Regions from separate parts of the Homo sapiens genome. Here all the other regions are linked to region 1. The links are contacts of gene promoters, found by promoter capture Hi-C in human tissues and cell types (Jung and others, 2019). All regions are on one chromosome and are shown on one strand. Each heading gives the region's core, a stretch centred on a gene start or on the middle of the fragment in contact. The rest is flanking DNA. Distances are from core to core; before and after follow the strand shown. Region 1 holds the start of IFNL3 (interferon lambda 3). Region 2 holds the start of RASGRP4 (RAS guanyl releasing protein 4). Region 3 overlaps RYR1 (ryanodine receptor 1). Region 4 has its middle 5.0 kb from the start of FCGBP.

Region 1 (5,955 bases), core at 2,300-4,799:
TGGCCGCGGGGCTGTGGGTCCTGTGCACGGTGATCGCAGAAGGCCCCCCGGCGCTGCCTGCTCTCGCACTACCGCTCGCTGGAGCCCCGGACGCTGGCGGCTGCCAAGGCGCTGAGGGACCGCTACGTAAGTCACCGCCCAGCCCCTGTGCCCCCTGGGACCCTGGCCCCACCGGGTTCCCATACACCCGTTCCTGTCCCAAGGGGTCCTGCGTCCTAGCGCCCAGCAGGCGCCTCTCCTATGTCAGCGCCCACAATTCCCACCACGAGACCCCCGCAGTCCCCGTCGTCAGCGCGAACGCAGGCTCAGGGTCAATCACAGAAGGGAGCCCTGCCGGGAGGACTCGGCTCCAGGTCGGGGCGAGGGGCTTTGCTGGGGGAGCGCGGAGTGCAATTCAACCCTGGTTCGCGCCTTCGGGGAGCTCCCTGGTTCAGTACACGACAGGCACGACCGTGCGCTGCCAGTACCCATCCACGTCCAGGAATCCCAGACTGTGCAGAGGTTAGGGGCCCTGGCGAGGGGGCCTAGCCGTATGCGATAAGCGCCGCTTGTCCCGCAGGAGGAAGAGGCGCTGAGCTGGGGGCAGCGCAACTGCTCCTTCCGCCCCAGGAGGGATCCTCCGCGGCCATCGGTGAGGCCCGGGAGTGGGCGGGAGAGGCATGGCCCGGGCGCGGCCCGCTCTAACGCCCTCTCGTCCCCGCAGTCCTGCGCTCGGCTCCGCCACGTGGCCCGGGGCATCGCGGACGCCCAGGCAGTGCTCAGCGGCCTGCACCGCTCGGAGCTGCTCCCCGGCGCCGGCCCGATCCTGGAGCTGCTGGCGGCCGCGGGGAGGGATGTGGCGGCCTGCGTGAGTGACGGCCGCGCCCCGCCGCCCCTCTCCCCCGCCAGCTTCTCTGCATCCTCAGGCCCACGGCGAGCCCCAGCGCTTTGCCAATCTGTCCTGCTTAGCGGAAAAACCCATCCAGACCGGAGTCGGGTCCTCTGGGTGTCCTGAAATCCGGGCTCGAGTCTGCGGCTGGGAGGGCCACGGGCAGATGCAGAGAGGGGCTTCGTCCTTCGCCTTTTCCATTTGCCTCATGTCCCACCTCCAGCTTGAGCTGGCACGGCCAGGCTCCTCCAGGAAGGTCCCCGGGGCCCAGAAGAGGCGTCACAAACCCCGGAGAGCGGTGAGTGCAACAGGCAATACAGGGTTAGCCCGCAGGGAGGACCAGGCGAGGCTGACAAGGACGGGACTGAGGCTGCGAGCAGCGGGACTGGAGGGGGATTCCGGGGGCGGGGGGAAGAGCCTGGCTTAGCCCCGCTGCCCTCCCTCCCTGGCTCCAGGACTCGCCTCGGTGCCGCAAAGCCAGCGTGGTCTTCAACCTCCTGCGCCTGCTCACGTGGGAGCTCCGGCTGGCTGCACACTCTGGGCCTTGCCTCTGACCCCGCCCCCTCTGGCAGCACGGAAACCTCCACGCCATTGGCTGCCGAAAGCAGCTCCTGTCGTCCATTGGGCTGGCCGGGCGAGGCTCTCAGTCAATGGGTGCTGAGGCACGAAAACTTCTTCGCAGCCTTGGGCCTGACTTGGATCCACTGTCTCAGATATAAGAGGAGCGGGTCCTTCTACAGGGAAGAGACCACAGTTCTCCAGGAAGCCACGATATTTCCTCGGGGTGCATTGTACGACCCTCCAACGGTTGCTGTGGCAGGAAAAAACTTGAGCTCTGGAAACCGTGGCTGACCCCAGGCAACAGGGACCAGTTCCTCCTTGTGTGGTTACCAGGACACCCCCAACACCAGGTCCTAACCCCGGATTTGTAGCCCCACAGCCAGCTTTGAGATTCTGTGAATCCGTGACTCTTGGATCCGGCATCTAAGGGACACCAATCCATGAGGGATTTGGTAGTGAAAGGCCCAAGGGTCCTTAACCGACTGTGGTTCTTTGGATTCCCTTACGTGTGTTTGTATTTGTGAAGTTCCTGTGCATTTGCTATTCTGTCTCCCGGTTTAAATTTATTGCCAGTTATCAAAGAGTGTTTTGATCGCATTGGTTGTTTTCCGTATGATGATTGTGAGGTGCACCTTACAGCAAAAAAAGAGGCCGAGCCAGGGACTCAGGTGGCCTGAGTTTCAGTTCTGACCCTGCCAGTTAATTACAGTGGAATTCAGGGCAAATTACTTTTCTGAGCCTCTGTTTCCTCACCTATAGGATGGGTTAGCATACTTGCCTTGTGGAGGAGTAGTGTCCGTTGAGATCACGTTTTAAACTCTCCAGCTGAGGTCCTAGTATGGTCTTAATGAGTGGATTCTATTAAATAATCACTCACATAAATACACAAACAATTGTGTTATTAATTTTTTCTCCAAATCTGTGCATTAGCAATCTGCGTTGCTGAATGCACCCCTCCTTGCCAAGGTCACACGGCTAGTGAGGGTCAGAACCAGGTTTGAACCCCAGACCCTTCATCTCCAAGACCCATGCTCTTCACCACTGCCTGAACTTCCCTAAGAAAGACGGCACCCACGTGGTGTCCTTCAAGTCCTTCGTCACACCTCAATTCTTGAGCAGAGCCTCATATTCCTGAGTCCTTCCTTGCCTGGGCAATTAAGAAATATTGGCCTCTGGGCATGGTGGCTCACACTGAAATCCCAGCAATTTGGGAGGCCTAGACAGAGAGATGACTTGACATCAGGAATTTGAGACCAGCCTTGCCAACATGGTGAAACGCCATCTCTACTAAAAATATAAAAATTAGCTGGGAATGGTGGCACAAATCTGTAATCTCAGCTACTTGGGAGGCTAAGGCAAGAGAATTGCTTGAACCCAGGAGGCGGAGGTTGCAGTTAGCCAAGATTTTGCACTGCACTCCAGCCTGGGTGACCGAACAAGACCCTGTCTCAAAATATATATATATATATATATATATATATGCCAGGAGTGGTGGCTCAGGCCTGTAATCTCAGCACTTTAATAGGCTGGGTGAGGAGGATGGCTTGAGCCCAGGAGTTTGAGGCTGCAGTGAGCTGTGATCATGCCATTGCACTGCAGTGACAGAGTGAGACCCTGTCTTAAACAACAACAAAACCAGAGCAGGTGGAATCCTCTTGGGAACATACCTTCCTGTAGGTTACCCCTGAGTCTCCATCAGTTTCTCTTTCCCTCCAGCTGCTCATCTGGCTCACTAGCCCTGCCCTGCTCTGGGCTTTCCCAGCCTGGGGCTCCCCTGGTGGCCGGTGTCTTACCTGAGGCTGTGTTTTCACTTTTCCTACATCAGCTGGGACTGCCCTTCTGTCAGGGATAAAAGCTGCCCCATGGAGCTCAGGCAGGAATTACATCCCAGACAGAGCTCAAAACTGACAGAAAGAGTCAAAGCCAGGACACAGTCTGAGATCCAGAAGAGGGGACTGAAAAGAACAGAGACTCCAGACAAGACCCAAACAGACCCTGGGTGACAGCCTCAGAGTGTTTCTTCTGCTGACAAAGACCAGAGATCAGGAATGAAACTAGGTGAGTCCCACATCTCTGTCCGTGCTCAGCTCCTGCAGCCCCTGCCCTCAGTGGGCAGCCTCTGCATTCCCTCAGCTCCCTTTCTCTCTGTGACACAGACATGACCGGGGACTGCATGCCAGTGCTGGTGCTGATGGCCGCAGTGCTGACCGTGACTGGAGCAGTTCCTGTCGCCAGGCTCCGCGGGGCTCTCCCGGATGCAAGGGGCTGCCACATAGCCCAGTTCAAGTCCCTGTCTCCACAGGAGCTGCAGGCCTTTAAGAGGGCCAAAGATGCCTTAGTGAGTCTCCCCCTGCCCTCCTGCCATGGACTAGCCTCCACCCGCACTCCAAGGGTCACCATGCTTTCCCACTCCCAGCTTCCTTCACTGGGCTAGCCTCCACCCTCCCTGCAGTGGGCTATCTCATGCTCCTACTGCAGGGACTGACTCATGTTTTCCTGAAGAAGAGGGTCCTCTACCATCCTCCCAGCAGTTAACCTCCCCTATCCTGTTGTCAGCCATCCTCCAATCCCATCAGAGTGGTCTAACCTCCACCCCTCCTGCTGGGGCTAACCTGTGCCTTTGCTGTCTAGGAAGAGTCGCTTCTGCTGAAGGACTGCAAGTGCCGCTCCCGCCTCTTCCCCAGGACCTGGGACCTGAGGCAGCTGCAGGTGAGAGGGGGAGTCAGGCCCACCCCTGCCCTCCCAGCCCTGCTCACCTGGCTCTGTAGTGGCCCCTTCACCTTCTCCTTCTCCATTGTCCCTCTCTCCTCTCCCCACACCTGCTACCCCTTCCCTCTGCTCCTACCTGACCACACTGGCTGTGCCCTCTCCCCTGTGCCTGTCACCTTCACTTGTTCCTCTCTATCCTCCTCCCCCAACCTGTTCCCCTCACCTCCCCCCTCACCTGCTCTTTCTCACCTCTCCTCAGGTGAGGGAGCGCCCCGTGGCTTTGGAGGCTGAGCTGGCCCTGACGCTGAAGGTTCTGGAGGCCACCGCTGACACTGACCCAGCCCTGGGGGATGTCTTGGACCAGCCCCTTCACACCCTGCACCATATCCTCTCCCAGCTCCGGGCCTGTGTGAGTCGTCAGGGCCCGGGCACCCAGGTCTGTGAGCTCTGAGCAGCGTCCTTCCCCTGGCCAAGGCCCCGGCTCACACACCGCCCTCCTCTGCCCACAGATCCAGCCTCAGCCCACGGCAGGGCCCAGGACCCGGGGCCGCCTCCACCATTGGCTGCACCGGCTCCAGGAGGCCCCAAAAAAGGTGAGTGACCCGGGAAGAGAGGGACTGAGGTCTGGGGAGCCACTGGGAGCCCAGAACCCAGACAGCCCCTGACCCATCCCCTCCTCCCTACAGGAGTCCCCTGGCTGCCTCGAGGCCTCTGTCACCTTCAACCTCTTCCGCCTCCTCACGCGAGACCTGAATTGTGTTGCCAGCGGGGACCTGTGTGTCTGACCCTTCCGCCAGTCATGCAACCTGAGATTTTATTTATAAATTAGCCACTTGGCTTAATTTATTGTCACCCAGTCGCTATTTATGTATTTGTGTATGTAAATCCAACTCACCTCCAGGAAAATGTTTATTTTTCTACTTTTTGAAATCCTTGTTGAAATAAACAATGAGGAAAAGACACCCATGACGTGGGACTGTGTGTGCGTTGGTGTGTATTTCCTTTGCATTGCTGCCATAACAAATTACCCTAAAAGTAGCATCTAGAACAGCAGGTTCATTGAGTCTGTGCTGTCCACTGGGGTCCCCAGGTCACATGTCACTATCGAGCACCTGGAATGTAGGTGGTGCAACCTCATTTTTTCAGTGAGTGTAAAACATACCCCAGAATTTGAAGATTTACTGTGGAGAAAAAAAAAAAAGTAAAACAGCTTAATTATAATTTATATATTCATTAGATGTTGAAATGATAGCACTTTGGATGTATTGGGTGAAATGAAGCATCTTTAAAATTAATTTAGAGCCTGGATGTGATTGCTCAAGCCTGTAATCACAGCACTTTGGGTGGCTGAGTTGGGAGGATCACTTGAGCCCAGACCAGCCTGGGCAACATAGCAAGATCCTGTCTCTATAAAAAATTAGAGAATTGGCTGGGTGTGGTGGCACAAGCCCATAATCCCAGCTACTGGTGGAAGCTGAGATGGGAGGACTGTTTGAGGTCAGGAGTTCACGACCAGCCTGAGCAACAGCAAGATCCTGTCTCTTGCGTGATCACATCTCACTGTAGCCTCAAACTCCTGGGCTCAAGTGATTCTCTCTCCTCGGCACCATCCTCCACCCTCTCCAGCCCCTCCCCGAACTGGGATTACAGGCTTGAGTCACCGGGTCCAGCCCATTCTCTTTCCAAGAAGCCCCTGAATTGTATAAGCAAACATGAGGTCTCACTAACCCTGGATAAGCCCCTACAGATGAGGAGGACAACTTGGATCAGGGACCCCTGCTGAGTAGAGTTGGCTGAGCTGCTGGAACAAAGAGTCC
Region 2 (5,955 bases), core at 983-3,482, 820 kb after region 1:
GTTGCAGTGAGCTGAGATCACGCCACTGCACTCCAGACTGGGCGACAGAGCAGGACTCTGTCTCAAAAATAAAAAAAAAAAATAGAAGTTAGCATGCCACCAGCCCGCTTAGTCACTATCCACAACACCTATCTCTAAATAAATAAATATATATATATAAGTCATGGAATTGTCACATAATGAAAGACTATATGGAATTATTATTATTATTATTATTATTATTATTTTGAGACAGAGTCTCGCTCTGTCGCCCAAGCTGAAGTGCAGTGGTGCAATCTCGGCTCGCTACAACCTCCTCCTCCCGGGTTCAAGCGATTCTCCTGCCTCAGCCTCCCAAGTAGCTGGGATTACAGGCACGCACCACCACACCTGGCTCATTTTTGTATTTGTAGTAGAGATGGGAGTTTCACCATGTTGGCCAGACGGGTCTCGAACTCCTGACCTCAAGTGATCTGCCCATCTCAGCCTCCCAAAGTGCTGGGATTACAGGCGTGAGCCACCGCGCCCGGCCAAAAAAAGGAATAAATTATAACCAAATATGATAACATGGAAGAACTGCAAAGACAAGACGTGGAGAGAAAGAACCCAGATTCAATACAGGAGTCCATTTTTATCCAGCTCAAAACAAGACAAAACTACTGCGCCAGACTTCGGGCGAGTGGGGATCTGTGGGAATTCGTGCTGGGAAGAAAGACAGGGGGCTTGTGGAGGGTGAGAATGTTCTGTGTCTGGATTTGTATGAATGTCACACAGGTTTGCTCAGTTGGTGACATTTCATCAACCTAAATACTTAATGATTCGTGATCTTTTTTGTACTTCAATTTAAAAAAAAGTGTCGAGCATGACACATTTAGGTAAAAAGAAAAAAATGCACACTCAAAAGAAAAGTCTGTTTCTAGGAGCACATGTTTATATGATGTGCTTAAACGCACAGACAGCAGTTTGGACGAAACTCGACAACGTGTCATATTGGTCACACCCTGCTTAAGAAAGGCAGGGGATGGGGAGGGGCTTCCCCAAGGCTTTACCTCCATCTCTAATGTTTTTTGATGTGTGTGTGTGTTTTTTTTTTTTGTTTTTTGTTTTTTGAGACAGGGTCTGGCTCTGCCACGCAGACTGAAGTGCAGTGGCACCATCATGGTTCACTGCAGCCTCGACCTCCTTGGGCTCAAGCAATCTTCTAGCCTCAGCCTCCTGAGTAGCTGGGACTACAAGTGTGCATCACTACGCTCAGCTAACTTTTTTTTTTTGAGACAGAGTTTCGCTCCTGTTGCCCAGGCTGGAGTGCAATGGCGCGATCTCGGCTCACGGCAACCTCCGCCTCCTGGGTTCAAGCAATTCTCCTGCCTCAGCCTGCCGAGTAGCTGGGATTACAGGCATGTGCCACAACGCCTGGCTAATTTTGTATTTTTAGTAGAGACGGGGTTTCTCCATGTTGCTCAGGCTGGTCTTAAACTCCCAACCTCAGGTGATCCGCCCACCTCGGCCTCCCAAAGTGCTGGGATTGCAGGAGTGAGCCACCACACCGGCCTAACGTTTTACATTTTTTGTAGAGACGGGGTTTTGTCACGTTGTTCAAGCTGGTCTCAAACTCTTAGACTCAAGCGATCCGCCTGCCTTGGCCTCCCAAAGTGCTGGATGACAGGCGTGAGCCCCTGTGAGCCCCCGTGCCTGGTCCGGTATGTAATTTTTTTTAAGGTAACAGTGGATTGTGTGAGGATTAAATGAGTTAATATTTTTAAAGTCCTTACAGCAGTGTGTGGTACACAGTAGGTGCTATGTGGAGGTTTGTTACAATAAAGTCAGAAAGTGAAAATGTTTTCCAGGGTACAAATGGTATCACTTAAACTAGGAATAAGAGACGCCTATGAAGAAATATACAAAATACTATGTCTTGTGAGTTTCCATTCAAACCTTCATGAATTATATATATGAATATGTCCTTCTAGACAGACAGACTTATCTTTTTGAGTGAGTGTGTGTGTTTTTACATAAATATCAGTCATGCTTTAAAAAGAAAAGCCCCTTCTTTTATTGAAGTATGACAGTGACGGGTCTCGACACCGAAAGATGGGGGAGATAGAGAGCCCGCCGGGGAGCTTGAGGGTGGGAGAGCCAGCGATGCCGGAAACCTCAGCAGAAGGGATCCCCGTGTGGGGGAGGGGGGCCTTCGGTCTCTCCCCAGCCTCTTCCTTCCCCCTGGCCTGAGGGTGGGTGGGGAGGGGCAGTTCCTCTTTCCTTCCCAAGCACCGAGGAGGCCCCAGCTCCCTAGGGGCTGAGAAGCTGGAGTCCTGGGCAAGGGGAGGAGCTGAGCCCTACTCTTGCAAGACCCCCGGCCTCCTCACCCCACGCGGGAAGCATGAACAGAAAAGACAGTAAGAGGTGAGAGGACCCTCCCCAGGGAGCCCGGCAGCACCCTGAGGCCTCCCTCTGCATGGGAGGGCTGGGGAGATCACTCGCCAGGGTGGCAGGATTCCTGACTTCTTTGGGATCAGGCGCAGGGGGGCCAGGTGGATGCTTCAGGGAGTCTGGAGCCAGCTACGGCTGCAGTCGCTTGTATGTGGCATCTGTACCGTGTTGTCCCTGGAGTTTGAGCTGCTCCGTGCCCCTTTTCCACTCCTCATCACCCCACCTCCATCCCTGGCCTGGGCTGAGTGTCTCTGCCCTCCCTGGGGGCTTCCTGGTTCCCCATCCCCGTGGACTGGAAACTCCAGGCTCCTGCAGGGCCTGGCCCAGGAGAGGGGAGTGTGGCACAGGGCAAGGCGACTCCCCTGCCTCTTAAACCACTCCTGGCTGTTCCAGACCCCTACAGGGGGCTGCAGGACAGGGCCTAGTGGCTGGCTGTGCGGCCGGTTCTGGAATGGGCTTCATCTCCTGGGCAAGCTGGCCCTTCTGTCCCCACAGAGGCAGATGGTGGGTGGCTCCCTAGCCTGGGTAACTCCTCCTGCCACCCCCAGCACCACTCTGATGGGCAAAGGGCTTTCCTCCCCACCCAGCAGTTTAGTGGTAGACTCCTGGCTGCCTAATTTCCTAGCTGTGTGACCTTAGGTAAGTCACTTAACTGCTCTGTGTCTCGGGTTTTTCTTCTGTCAGTAGAACAATCATATCCTCTACCTCGGAGAGGCCTGTAAGTACTCAATGAGACACTCTAGACCAGTGGTTCTCAAACTGGAGCGAGCCTCAGAACTGTCTGGAGGGCTTGTAAAATACAGGTTGCTGGGCTTACCTTTAAAGTGTTTGGTTTTTTTTTTTTTGTTTTTTTTTTTTGAGACGGAGTCTCGCTCTGCCGCCAGGCTGGAGTGCAGTGGCACAATCTTGGCTCACTGCAACCTCTGCCTCCCGGGTTCAAGCGATCATCCTGCCTCAGCCTCCCAAGTAGCTGGGACTACAGGTGTGCACCACCACACCCAGCTACTTTTTTGTATTTTTAGTAGAGATGGGGTTTCACCATGTTGGGCAGGATGGTCTCGATCTCTTGACCTCGTGATCCACCCACCTCGGCCTCCCAAAGTGCTGGGATTAGAGGCATGAGCCACCACCCTTAGCCTTAAAGTGTTTGATTTTGTAGGTCTGGGTTGGGACCTGAGAATCTGTATTGATATCCAGTTCCCAGGTGATGCTTTTGGTACTAGCTGGGTGCCCACACTTAGGGAAATGCTGACTTAGTTAGAATGCTCCTTCCTTAGCCTAGGACATATATAATACTTTAAAATGTCCCTTCTAGTAACGATGGCTCATGCCTCTAATCCCAGCACTTTGGGAGGATAAGACAAGGAGAACTTGAAGCCAGGAGTTCTAGACCAGCCTGAGAAATATAGTGAGACCCCCCCCCCCATTGACACACACCCAAACACACACACAAAATTAGCTGGGTATGGTCGTGCACACCTGTAGTCCCAGCTACCTGGGAGACTAAGGCAGGAGGATCACTCGAGTCCAGGAGTTCAAGGTTACAATGAGCTTTGATTGCACAACTGTGCTCCAGCCTGGGAGACAGAGCAAGACCCTGTCTGAAAAAGGGTAGAGGTGGGAGCCTGGCGTGATGGCTCACACCTGTAATCCCAGCACTTTCAGAGGCAAAGGTGGGAGGATCAGTTGGGCCCAGGAGTTTGAAACCAGCCTGGCCAACATGGTGAAACCCCATTTCTACTAAAAATACAAAAATTAGCTCGGCGTGGTGGCACGTGCCTGTAGTCCCAACTACTTGGGAGGCTGAGGCAGGAGAATTGCTTGAACCCGGGAGGTGGAGGTTGCAGTGAGCTGAGATCGCACCACTGCACTCCAGCCTGGGTGACAGAGTGAGACCCTGTCTCCAAAAAAAGAAAGAAAGAAAGAAAAAAGAAATCCCTGGAGAAGGTCCAAGGACTATCCTCATTTTTCCTTCGAGGAAATTGAGCCCCAGAGAAATTAAGTGACTAACACGAAGTCACAACAGCTGGCAAAAATTTCTGGATTCTACTTTCGTCTGAAGCTTGGATTCAGCAGCCTCCCTGCTCCCACCATCCTTGTCTCTCCATTACCCTCTTCCCCTATCAGGAACAGCAGCCTCTGGGAGGCACCAGGCAGAGGGAGAATTATTATTACTATTATTACTATTATTATTATTATTATTTTGAGACTAAGACTCGCTCTGTTGCCCAGGCTGGAGTGCAGTGGCACGATCTCGGCTCACTGCAACCTCCGCCTCCTGGGTTCAAGCAAGTCTTCTGCCTCAGCCTCCTGAGTAGCTGGGATTACAGGAGCCCACCACCACGCCTGGCTAATTTTTGTATTTTTAATAGAGATGGGGTTTCACCATGTTGGCCAGGCTGGTCTCGAACTCCTGACCTCAAGTGATCCACCCACCTCAGCCTCCCAAAGTGCTGGGACTACAGGCGTGAGCCACTGTGACTGGCCTCTCTTTTTAATTTTTTTATTATTATTTTTGAAACAGAAATCACTCTGTCACCCAGGTTGGAGCACAGTGATGCAGTTCCGGCTCACTGCAGCCTCCACCTCCTGGGTTCAAGCGACCCTCCTGCCTCAGCCTCCTGAGTAGCTGGGATTACAGGCGCCCGCCATCACGCCTGACCAATTTTTGCATTTTTAGTAGCGATGGGGGTTTCACCATGTTGGCCGGGGTGGTCTCGAACTCCTGGCCTCAAGTGATCCACCCACCTTGGCCTCCCAAAGCTTTGGGATTACAGGCGTGAGCCATCACACTGGTCCAAGAGCCTTGCTCTCTTGAGGGCTGTGGGAGGAAGGAGGGGAGGGTGTTAGAGACCAAACGGGAGCCCTGAGGAGGCAATTCCTGAAGGCAGGTCCTCCCATGCCTCTGCCTGGGGAGGACAGAAGAGATTCCAGGGGTCTTCTCCCGAGTCCCTGGTAGGCCAGGAGTAATCCTGGGATCTGCCAAAAGGAAGTCTCTTCCAGGATGCCCTGGAAGCAGTCAAGAGGAAGTTGGGGGCAATGCCTGGGGAAGGAGTTCTTATGATTCCCTGAGGGGTCTTGAGTGGTCCCAGGGGTCTTCTACTGTGATTCCCTGGGAGATTCAGAGCAGTCCTGAGCGGCGGTCCCCAGGCTTTTTGGCATCAGGGACCAGTTTTGTGGAAGGGGGTGGGGATGGTGTGGGGATGATTCAAGTTAATTACATGTATCCTGTGCTTTATTTTTATTATTATTACATTGTAATATATAATGAAATAGTTACGCAGCTCACCATAATGGAGAATCAGTGGGAGCCCTGAGCTTGTTTTCCTGCAACTGGATGCTCCCATCTGGGGGTGATGAGAGACAGTGACAGATCATCAGGCATTAGGCATCAGGCATCATAAACAGCACGCAGCCTAGATCATCAGGCATCATAAACAGCACGCAGCCTAGATCCCTCGCATGTGAAGTTCACAATAGGGTTCATGCTCCTAAGAGAGTCTAATGCCCCAGCTGATCTGACAGGAGGTGGAGCTCAGGCGGGGG
Region 3 (4,144 bases), core at 222-2,721, 720 kb after region 1:
TATTCAGGTTAAGACTCACACGGCAGAAGGAAAACCTTGTCTCCACCAACAGAGTCAGGGTCCTGACTCCGCCTCCAGACCTAAGTTTCCATCCTAGGCCAGGTCCCACAGAGCCAGGACCACGAGCCAGGCCACGACCAATTCTACGACCCACCCAAGGCCCTGCCCACAAACTCAACGCATCTCCTCTAGGCCCCACCCCTAGACCTAAAGATCTGCCCCTTCCCTGTCCCGCCCCCAGATGCAAGATTAAGCAGCAGACCCCTCCCCCGATCCATTCTAAGCCTCGCCTTAAACTCGAGGCTCCACCTCCTGCCCTGCCCCAAAACTTAATAGTCATCTCCAGACCCCACCCACATCCTTGAAGCCCCTCCCCCCGCCAGGCTCCGCCCAGAGACCCAGTAGAAAGACCCCTCCGGCCCCACCCACCTGGTCCAGGTAGTAGAGCACGGCTGACACTTCCTGGACTCTGCGCACGATTTTCTCGGGGTCATCGGCGTCCTCCTCGCGACCCGGGACGCCCCGGTACAGAGCCATCTGCCAGCGCAGAGACGGGGAGCCTTCGACCTGAAGGGAGGAAGAAGGAGTGGCCGGCGTGAGGGACCCTTCCCACAGTGTCCGCCGGATGTCCCCTTTCCGTTTTTGGGAGGACTCAATGGGTGAGTGCATGTTGAGGCCTTTCTTCTTCTTCATCTTTTTGTTTTGAGACGGAGCCTCGCCCCATCACCCAGGCTGGAGTGCAGTGGTGCGATCTCAGCTCACTGCAACCTCTGCCTCCTGGGCTCAAGCGATTCTCCTGCTTCAGCCTCCTGAGTAGCCGGGACTACAGGCACCCGCCATCACACCCAGCTAATTTTGTACTTTTAGTAGAGACGGGGTTTCACCACGTTGGCCAGGCTGGTCTCGAACTCCTAACCTCAGGTGATCTGCCCGCCTTGGCCTTCCAAAGTGTTGGGATTACAGGCATGAGCCATTGTGCCCGGCCTAATTGTTGTATTTTTAGTAGAAACATGGTTTCGCCACATTGGCCAGGCTGGTCTCAAACTCCTGACCTTTGAGGTCTTTCTTCAATGCCTGGTCTTTGGTAAATGCTCAAACCTTCACTAATATTGTGGTTACTTTCTGACTTGCTTCTTTTGCTTGCAGAGGAAGGAGGCATACCTTTCCCTGAAGGTGAAGGTTGTTGTGCAGAAATTCCCGGACCTCCTCATCTGTGTCTTTCTGGGGAGACAGAGCCAGGCTGGGTCACTCTGGAGGTCCCATCCTCCTTCCTGACCCACAACCCTTTCCTTCCAGGCCCAGCACCCCAGGAACTGAAGAGGTTTTTCTGGGGTGGGGGTGGGGGTCTGAGAGAAACAAAAGGATGCAGAGGTTGACGGGGTCAGAAGGGGTCCTAGAGGGGCCGGAGGGTCACAGAGTCACCTTGAAGATACAGTAAGGATTCGAGGGGCCTCGTGGAGGTCTGGGAAGAGGCAAAGGGTGACAAGAGGATCTCATCAAAGGTCAAATATGGCCAAAGAGGGATGACTGGGGGGTCAGAGTGGGGCAGGGAGTCTTTGAAGATCAGAAGGGGTCAGCAGAGGTCATGGGGGATCACGTAGGTCAACGGAGTCACTGGTTACACAGGGGCCAAAGGGGGCATCAGCAGGGTGGGGGTTCACTGGGGTTCTAGGACGGGGAGCCCTCAAGGACCAAGGTGAGGGGTCCATGGAGCCCTGGAGGGCTCTCTGGCGTCCTGGCAGGACTCAGCAGTCCTGGGAGGTGCCTGAGGTTCTGAGGGAAGGGGTGTCCTGGTGGTAGCAGGGGAGAAGTCGGTGGTCTTTAGGGGTCCAGGGGGTTAGTAGGTTGTCAGGGTGTTGGTGTGGTCCTGGGGGGAGGGCTATAGGGGTCTTGGGGCAGAATCCTGGGAGGGTTCCTTAGAGTCCCTGAAGCTGGAAAGGATCGGAGAGGAGGGAGATTGTCCTTGTTGTCCCACACAAGGGGTAAGTGGGGTCCCGGGAGGCCTCCTTGATATCCCAGCAAGCTTAAGAGGTTCTACAGCCCGGGTATTTTGGTCTCCAGGACAGTTGAGACCTCAGAGGTTTGGGTACAGTCCCGGGCTTGGGGTTCATGGATCCTGGGGAGTTATGCAGGGTCGCAGGGCTCCCTGAGCCCCTGAGAGTCTTGGGGGCTTAGTTGGGCTTCAACAGGGCCCAGGTGTCAGCAGGGTCCTGAAGGAAAGGGATGGTGAGCCAAGGGCTCAGCAGGAACCCAGAGGTTCAGTCTTGGCAGGGAGGGAAGGAGGGGTCATGAGGGTCTCAGTAGGTCCCAAGGGGCTTGAAGGGGCCTTGGTGGAGGGTTCAGAGGATCTCAGGGGCTCATCTTGTTGGGGGGACTCTCAGGGTCTCAGCAGGTTTGGCATGGTCCGGTGGGGGGGCAGTGGGGTCCTGCAGTCCTCATGCGGGTCCCAGGGGTCCTAGAGCTTTTCTAGGTTTCAGTGAGGGCTCTTAGGTCTGTGGTGCCCTGGCAATATCTTGAACGGGGTCCTCAGGGCATCCCAGGGGCACAGTGAGTCCTCAGCATCCCGGAAAAGAACTCAGTGGGGTCTGAAGGGAAGGCTCCCAGGGACCTGGGGGGCTCAGTGGCATTGTGGTTGTTCCCTAAGGTCCCAGGGGTTCAGTGGGTGCTGGGCGGCATCCTGGAAGGTTCCGAGGACGGGGCTGGGCAGGCACCAGGGCGTAACGGGTCTTGGCCAGCGTGATGAGGTCTTGGTCGGTGGGCGCACACATATTCAGGCCGATGGGCAGCATCTTCTTCAGTGTGGCCACGATCAGTGACGTCTGCACAGAGTACCGGTCCCCCCGGCGCTTCTTCTTGGTGCGTTCCTGGTCCGAGCCACCGGACTGTGGGGACACAGGGCTCAGCACCAGCCCAAGCCCCAATCCCATGCCTCAGCCCCAACCCGCGGCCATCATCCACACCCCAGGCCCCAGTCTGGACACCAGGCACTCCCTCCCCAACTGCCGACGACACCTCAATTTCCACCCCAGACTTGCTGACTCTACACTTCAGGCCCACAGCCATGACCGGAGACCCTCCAGACCCAAGTCCACAACCCAAATTCCCAGTTTCTTGTTTTTTAAACAAATTTATTTTTAGAGATGGTGTCTTGCCATGTTGCCCAGGCTGGACTTGAACTCTTGGCTTCAAGTGATCCTCCTGCCTCAGCCTCCCAAGTAGCTGGGACTACAGGCACATACCACCATGCTTGCCTGGCTCCAATTTCTAACCCAGGCCCATCCAGATTTTCCCCCGTTCTGGGCCTGTCTCAACTTCTAGCAGTCCTCTTCCAGAATCCCCTAGGAACCCCAGTACAATACCCCCTCCACAGCATGCACAACCCCACACTTCACATCCCAAAACCAAGTTCTCAAGAATGAAACAAAGATGCAGGTCCACAAAGAGTTCAAGCGACAAGAGAAGTTGCAAGAAAAAGACACTGAGAGACTGAAAAAGACAAGGAGACAGGAAGACCAAAGATGCAAGAGACATCCAGAAAGATCTGGAAGCAGAGACACAGGGCACAGAGTCCCACAGCCGTGTTCTGGAGCCTTGGGTGCAGACCCGGGGCCAGGGCCACCCCAGTCACGCCAGCGAGAAGCCCTGATGACAAGCTTTTGGGCAGAGCCACATCCACGCCGGCTGGCAACTTTGAGCATGACCCCTGTGCCAGGCACTGCTGCAGGCCACACATGCAGCTTCTCCCTGAGTCCTCGCAGAGCCCTGGGGTGGGGGCTGCTGGCTGGATGCCCTCAGAGGCTCAAAAGGATGACCCCAACCAAGGTCACACGGCTAACTATCAAGACAGGATTCTAACCCCAGTCCATACAGTCCAGAGCCCAAGCTTTAAACCATCCACGGCGAGGGTGCTGCCCCCTCCCCAACCATGCTCCGTGTGCCTCTCCCACCCCCATTACCCTTGACCTCAGCCCACGATGCTTTGGTAAAAGCTGAGAGTTGCTCTTTTTTTCTTTTTTTTTTTTTTTTTGGGAACAAAAGTCCAGAAAAAAAAAAGGAAAGAAGAAAAAGAAAAGAAGTCAAATTGCCAAAAGCTGAGGGTTGGGATGGGAACGGATGGGGGTGGTGGGGAGGGAAGGGAAGGGAA
Region 4 (5,955 bases), core at 2,221-4,720, 690 kb before region 1:
AAAAAAAAAAAAGAATAAGGAGAATGAAATCTCTTGGCTGGGAGTGAGACAGCTGGCTGGCTTCCTATTTTGAGGTGGTTTAGTGAAAAAGAACAAAAGCCCCTTACTCAAGCTGTAGCTTGTCTGCAGCAGGATAATTAAGGAATCAGAGAGACCGTGGGGTTGAGGAGGAATTATTTAATTATTCAGGTGCACCGACCCAGTCAGATTAACATCCAAAGGACTGAGCCCTGAACAAAGAGTCAAGCTACCTTTTAAGCATTTCGTGGGGCTGGGGGAGATCTGTGCAGGGGGAAGCATATCACAGAAGTGAGAAACAAAGACAGTCATTCAATTGAGACATGCATTATATCATTTTTTTTTCAAGGAACAGCATGTTTTACGACTTGAGATTATCTGTCTAGTGATCTTACAGCTGCACAGCTAGAGAAACAGAGTCTTCACAATGCCTGGGAAAGGGAGAGATAAGGCTCACTAGCCATAGAAAAACAGGCAGTTAATTTTAAAGGACTCCAGCTCTTTCTCTTCCTCAGGGGGAATTGGGTTTTCTTACATACAACTAAGTTTTGCTTACACATTCTTTATTTCTTTTAATTCCTGTTCTATACCTAACCTCCAGCCAGTCAGCATCAGAGGCCCAAGAAGCTATTAACCACAAGTTCCTGCTTTAGGGGCTTAGGGACTTCCCCAGGAAGCCACAGGAACAGCTTAGGTTTCAACTTACAGTGATAATTTCCTTATTTCAATGCTAAAAATCATGCTCAGAGGTAGAGATTTAAAATGCCAATATTACATGCAATGTATGAAAAACCATGTTGAACCATTGTGCAGGCGCCAAGAAATCCCTTGTTAACACATGATGACAGGCACATCATGGCATCTGGACCCCTACAAGACAGATCGACTTGCTCCCTGTGGGGAGCAGCCTACCCTTTTCCTTTCACGGTGCTGACCTCCCTTCTGCACAAACGGAAACAAACTTTTTTTTTTTTTTCTCTTTAATACTGTGTCTGGTAATCTCACTTGATTTCTATCTTAGGAGACTACAACAAGCCAGGATGATGGTAACATCTCTGTCAAGATGACATAGATTTATTTTTCCTGGCTCCTCTCTGCTAAAAACCCTGGAATAACATAACAGACATTCTTAAGAGGACTCTGAAAGATAAAAAGAAGGAAAACTGACAAGGGCCTTAGAACTCGAGAAACATCTCAGTGGCCCAGCATCTCTCAATTTCCCACCCAACGACAGGACGTGGTCTAGATCCAGCATCTCCCCAGCCCCCTATCCAGCGGCAGAAAGCACCCAGGTAGGTGCTTTCCCCACCCTAGTGGATGGCAGAGATGAAGGAAGAGCCCTGCTGGCACCACGCAGCCCAGGGAAGTACTCTCCACCCTTTTGTGCCAGTGTCTCCTACTCCTAACGTAGCAGCACCAAGCAGGCCCCAAGAAAATGCTTTTAACCTCCATTGGTGGTACTAACAGGAATTGGGTATGAGCTCAACCAGCACCAGGCAAATGAAATAGACCGGAATAATAATGCAAGGGCTCTGAAAACTAAATTGTCATTGGAATCATAGCACACAAAAGTAGGCCAGGACCTGCATGCTAACCTAAAAACAGTGACTGCTAAAATGGAAGAGTTAAATAGGATCCAGGGTCTCCTCTCATAATACCAGAAATGTCCAGGATATAATTTAAAAATCATACATAATATGAACAACCAGAAAAATCACAACTTGAATGAGAAAAGCCAATCAACAATCTAACACTGAGATGAAAGATTTTAGAATTATCTGACAAAGATCTAAAGTAGCCATCATAAAAATGTTTCACCAAGCAAGTAGAAATTCCTTGCAAAGATGGGAAAGAAAAGAAAATCTCACCAAAGAAATGGAAAGTATGTTCTTAAAGAATCAAATGAAAATGATAAAACTGAAAAATACAATAACTAAAATAAAAACTCACTGGAAAGGCTCAAGAGCAGAGCAACTATGACAAAGGAAATAAGAAGTGAACTTGAAGATAGAACAATAAAAATTACCCAATCCAAAAAACAGAGAGACAATCAACTTTAAAAAAGAGAAACAGAAAATGACTAACAAGGGCTCAGAGAACCTGCAGGACAATTATAAAATAGCTAACATTTGTATTATCAGATTAACAGAAGGAGAAAAGAAAGTGGGGCTGAAAAATATTTGAAGAATAATGACCAAACCTTCCCAAATTTGGCAAAAGACATAAACCTACAGATGCAAGAAGCTAAACAGAATAAATCTGACGGATTCCATGCCAAAACACAGTATAACTAACTTATGAAAACAAAGGCAAACAATGAAACTATCTTGGAAGCAGCTAGAGAGGAATTATAAATTGTCTATAGGGAACACTGATCAAATGACAAAAAATTTCTTATCAAAAACCATGGAGAAGAAAGCCTGGAGCAATACTCTTCAAGTGCTGAAAGAAAATAACTATCTGCTGAGAATCTTTTTTTTTTTTTTTTTGAGACAGTCTCGCTCTGTCCTCCAGGCTGGAATGCAGTGGTGTGCTTTTGGCTCACTGCAACCTCCACCTCCCAGTGATTCTCCTGCCTCAGCCTCCCAAGTAGCTGGGACTACAGGCGCCCGCCACCATGCCCGGCTAATTTTTGTACTTTTATTAGAGACAGGGTTTCACCATGTTGGCCAGGCTGGTCTGGAACTCCTGACCTTGTGATCTGCCCGCCTCAGCACCCCAAAGTGCTGGGATTACAGGCGTGAGCCACTGTGCCCAGCCGAGAATCTTATATGCAGCAAAACTATCTACGGGGTATGAAGAAGAAATAAAAAGCTTTTAGATGAAGGAAGACTACAAGACTTTGCCGTCAGCAGAATTATTTTTAGAGAATGATTAAAGGAAGTTCTCCAAAGTCCAAATGATTACAGGAAAAGGCTCAGAACTTTAGAAAGGAAGGAAGAACAGCAGAATGGACAAAAATAGTGATAACTATAGCAGATTACCCTTCTCATGAGTTTTTAAAAATCGTAGTTGGTTGAAGCAAAAATTATAGTATTATCTGATGTCTATAGGAAGAGACAATACTTAAAATAGTTATATGTGTATACACACACACGCATATGTATAAGTGGGAGGGTAAAAGGATCTATATGGATGTAAAGTTTCAACACTTCAATCAAAGTGGTAAAATATTCATAAGTTGGATTATAATCAGTTACATATGTATATTGTAGTACTAGAGCAAGTGCTAAGAAAATTCTACAAATTATGTATTCGAAAATAATATGAATCAAAATGGAATGCTAAAAAATGCTCATGTAACTCACAGGAATGCAAGAAAAAATAAGAATGAGAAATGGAACAAATGGAAAATGAATATTAAAATGTTAATCTTAAGTCCAAACATATCAATAACTACTTTAAATGTAAATAGTCTATCTCCTTACATGAAATAAAAGGCCAGAGATTGGTAGAGTGGATTTAAAAAATGATCCAACTAGATACTGTCTCCAAAAAACTTTACTCCAAATATAACAACATAGGTAGGTTGAAAATAAAAGAATAGAAATATATATTAATTTTATTAATTTATGTTATTATAAATATAAATTTTAGGCTGGGTGCAGTGGCTCACCCCTGTAATCCCAGCACTTTGGGAGGCCAAGGCAGATAGATCACTTGAGGTCAGGAGTTCAAGACCAGCCTGGTCAACATGGTGAAACCCCGTATCTACCAAAAATACAAAAATTAGCCAGGCGTGGTCACAGGTGCCTGTAATCCCAGCTACTTGGGAGGCTGAAGCAGGAGAATTGCGTGAACCTGGGAGGCAGAGGCTGCAGTGAGCCGAGATCATGCCCTTGCACTCCAGCTTGGGCAACAGAGCGAGACTCTGTCTAAAAAATAAATAGATAAATAAATAAATAAATATATATATAATTTTAAATATAAATTTTTAAAAGGAAGGAAGTACTATATTAATACGAAAATACTTTCCTTCAGAGCGAAAAACATTGCTAAAAACAAAGGATCATTCTGCCAAGACATTGCAATCCTAAGGTATATGTACCAAACAACAGAGATTCAAGTACATGAAGCAAAAACTGATAGAGCTGAAAGGTGAAATAGACAAGTCCACAAATATAGTTGGAGAATTAAAAACGTCAGTCTCACCAAATTGATAGAACTACCAGGATAAAATATGTGAGAATATCAAAGAACTGAATAACAGCATCAATCAACAGGATCTAATTGATATTTATAGAATGCTCTATTCAACAATAGACAAATCCACAAATACATTTGGGAAATTCAAAGACTTGCTCTTGTTAGCAACAACAACAACAACAAAGAAGTAGTTCTTTCGTTTCATTGATTTTCTCATGTTCAGTTTTATTAATTTCTGCTCTTCATTATTTCCTTTCTTCTGCGTTGTGTTTGTTTTGGTCTTTTACTACTTTATTGTGTAAGAAGAGCTTAGAATATTGGTTTAAGAACTTTCCTCTTTCCTAATGTAAATATTTAATGCCATAAATTTCCCTTTAGCTATATCCCACATATTTTGAAATATCTTCTTTTCATTTTCATTTAATTCTATGTATTTTTGATACTTCCTCTTTGGCCCATGGATTATTTAGAAGTGAGTTGCTCAATATCCTTGTGAGTGGAGATTTTCCTGTTTTTCTGTTATTCATTTCAAGCTGATTCCATTATGGTCAGAGAACATCTCCTATAGAATTTCAATTATTATAGGCAGAGAGGAAGTGTGAATGTCAAATGTTAGAGGGAAGGAACTAGAGGCAAGTGGCAAATAATGGGTCATTGGAGAGTTTAACAAAACGTTCAGTGCTTATGGAAGTCGGATTGTGGGATCCAGAGCGTAAAGGAATTAAGTTAGAAATTGCCCGCAAGCCTGAATTTAGCTGGAGAGAGTAAATTCTCTTCCACTGTGCTCCAGTCTATAAAGCCAAGACTAGTCAGAGGGGCCCAGGGGTCTGGGATGGTATAGCCAGTGCCCATGCTGCAAGGAGACGGAAGCAGATAAGCAGGAAGAGGCCGAAAGGCTCAGGTACACAAATACCCTTGTTTGGGCTCAGAGCAAGGCTGCCAGTGGAGGGATGGATGCGATTTCTCTGACCATAAGGAAGTGTCCCCAGAGTTTATTTCCCGGGTCACCAAAGGGTTTCCTGAGAATTGATATAATACAGGGTAAAGCACAGGGGTGTACACACACACATACACACACACACACACACACACCCACACACACACCCACACACACACCACTTGGGCCTTAAAAGGAGTGAGAAAGAAGACCCAAGGGGATTGGCACATACAGAGTATTAATTTGTGAGATCTCCCACCACAACCACCCCATTTCTGGGGACTCTGGCTGTGGAGAGCGATGATGAATTTTGAAGGCAGGAAGCTTCTTTCTGTGATCAACCAGGGGAAACCCCAAGGCTTAGAGAGAATTGAGGGCCAGAAACACCCATGAAACTCACCCTGATTCTTTCCCTTCACCTCCCATTTGTCTCTGAGTGCCTCTAATTACAAGAGGCATATGGCACACAGAGGATTTTATTTTCTTTTTTCTTTTTCTCCCCAGGCCAGAATGCAGTGGCATGATCACGGCTCGCTGCAGCCTCAGACTCCTAGGATCAAGCAATCCTCCCACCTTAGCCTCCTGAATGGTGGAGACTACAGGTGCATGCCACCACACTCGGTTTATTTTTATATTTTTTGTAGAGAAAGGGTCTCACTATGTTGCCCAGGCTGGTCTTGACCTTGTGGCCTCAAGTGATCCTCCTGCCTCAGCCTCCCAAGTAGCTGGGACTACAAGCGTGCACCACCGTGCCTGGCTAATTTTTGTATTTTTTTGTAGATACAGGGTCTCACTATGTTGGTCTTGAACCAGGCTGGTCTCAAACTCATGGCCTTAAGCAATCCTCCTGCCTC

What was found. Contacts are between HindIII fragments. The study calls those that stand out against the background at their distance.
Region 2: the fragment with the promoter of RASGRP4 here is called in contact with the fragment with the promoter of IFNL3 in region 1 in 3 of the 25 tissues and cell types used here (dorsolateral prefrontal cortex, mesenchymal stem cells and stomach).
Region 3: a fragment that was not itself captured here is called in contact with the fragment with the promoter of IFNL3 in region 1 in 1 of the 25 tissues and cell types used here (mesenchymal stem cells).
Region 4: a contact is called between a fragment that was not itself captured here and the fragment with the promoter of IFNL3 in region 1, in 1 of the 25 tissues and cell types used here (stomach).

Annotation. Positions count from the first base shown.
Region 1 is chr19:39,242,600-39,248,554 of GRCh38, reverse strand. It overlaps IFNL3 (interferon lambda 3), which reads left to right and starts at 3,549. Exons shown (of 5, transcript NM_172139.4): 1 at 3,549-3,767; 2 at 4,061-4,138; 3 at 4,398-4,547; 4 at 4,648-4,731; 5 at 4,825-5,002. The coding sequence starts at 3,588. The coding sequence ends at 4,923. It also overlaps the pseudogene IFNL4. The HindIII fragment of the contact is 34,684 bases long and covers 1-5,955 here.
Region 2 is chr19:38,422,496-38,428,450 of GRCh38, reverse strand. RASGRP4 (RAS guanyl releasing protein 4) reads left to right here and starts at 2,232. Exons shown (of 17, transcript NM_170604.3): 1 at 2,232-2,382. The coding sequence starts at 2,360. RefSeq lists an enhancer at 890-1,404 and a silencer at 2,297-2,356. The HindIII fragment of the contact is 24,204 bases long and covers 1-4,822 here.
Region 3 is chr19:38,524,070-38,528,213 of GRCh38, reverse strand. RYR1 (ryanodine receptor 1) reads right to left here. Exons shown (of 106, transcript NM_000540.3): 71 at 2,712-2,882; 72 at 1,162-1,221; 73 at 430-567. Among named protein-coding and RNA genes, the nearest start is that of MAP4K1-AS1, 70 kb to the left of the region's middle. The HindIII fragment of the contact is 4,595 bases long and covers 1-3,768 here.
Region 4 is chr19:39,936,690-39,942,644 of GRCh38, reverse strand. No RefSeq gene overlaps it. Among named protein-coding and RNA genes, the nearest start is that of FCGBP, 5.0 kb to the right of the region's middle. RefSeq lists enhancers at 707-796, 897-976. The HindIII fragment of the contact is 4,644 bases long and covers 1,149-5,792 here.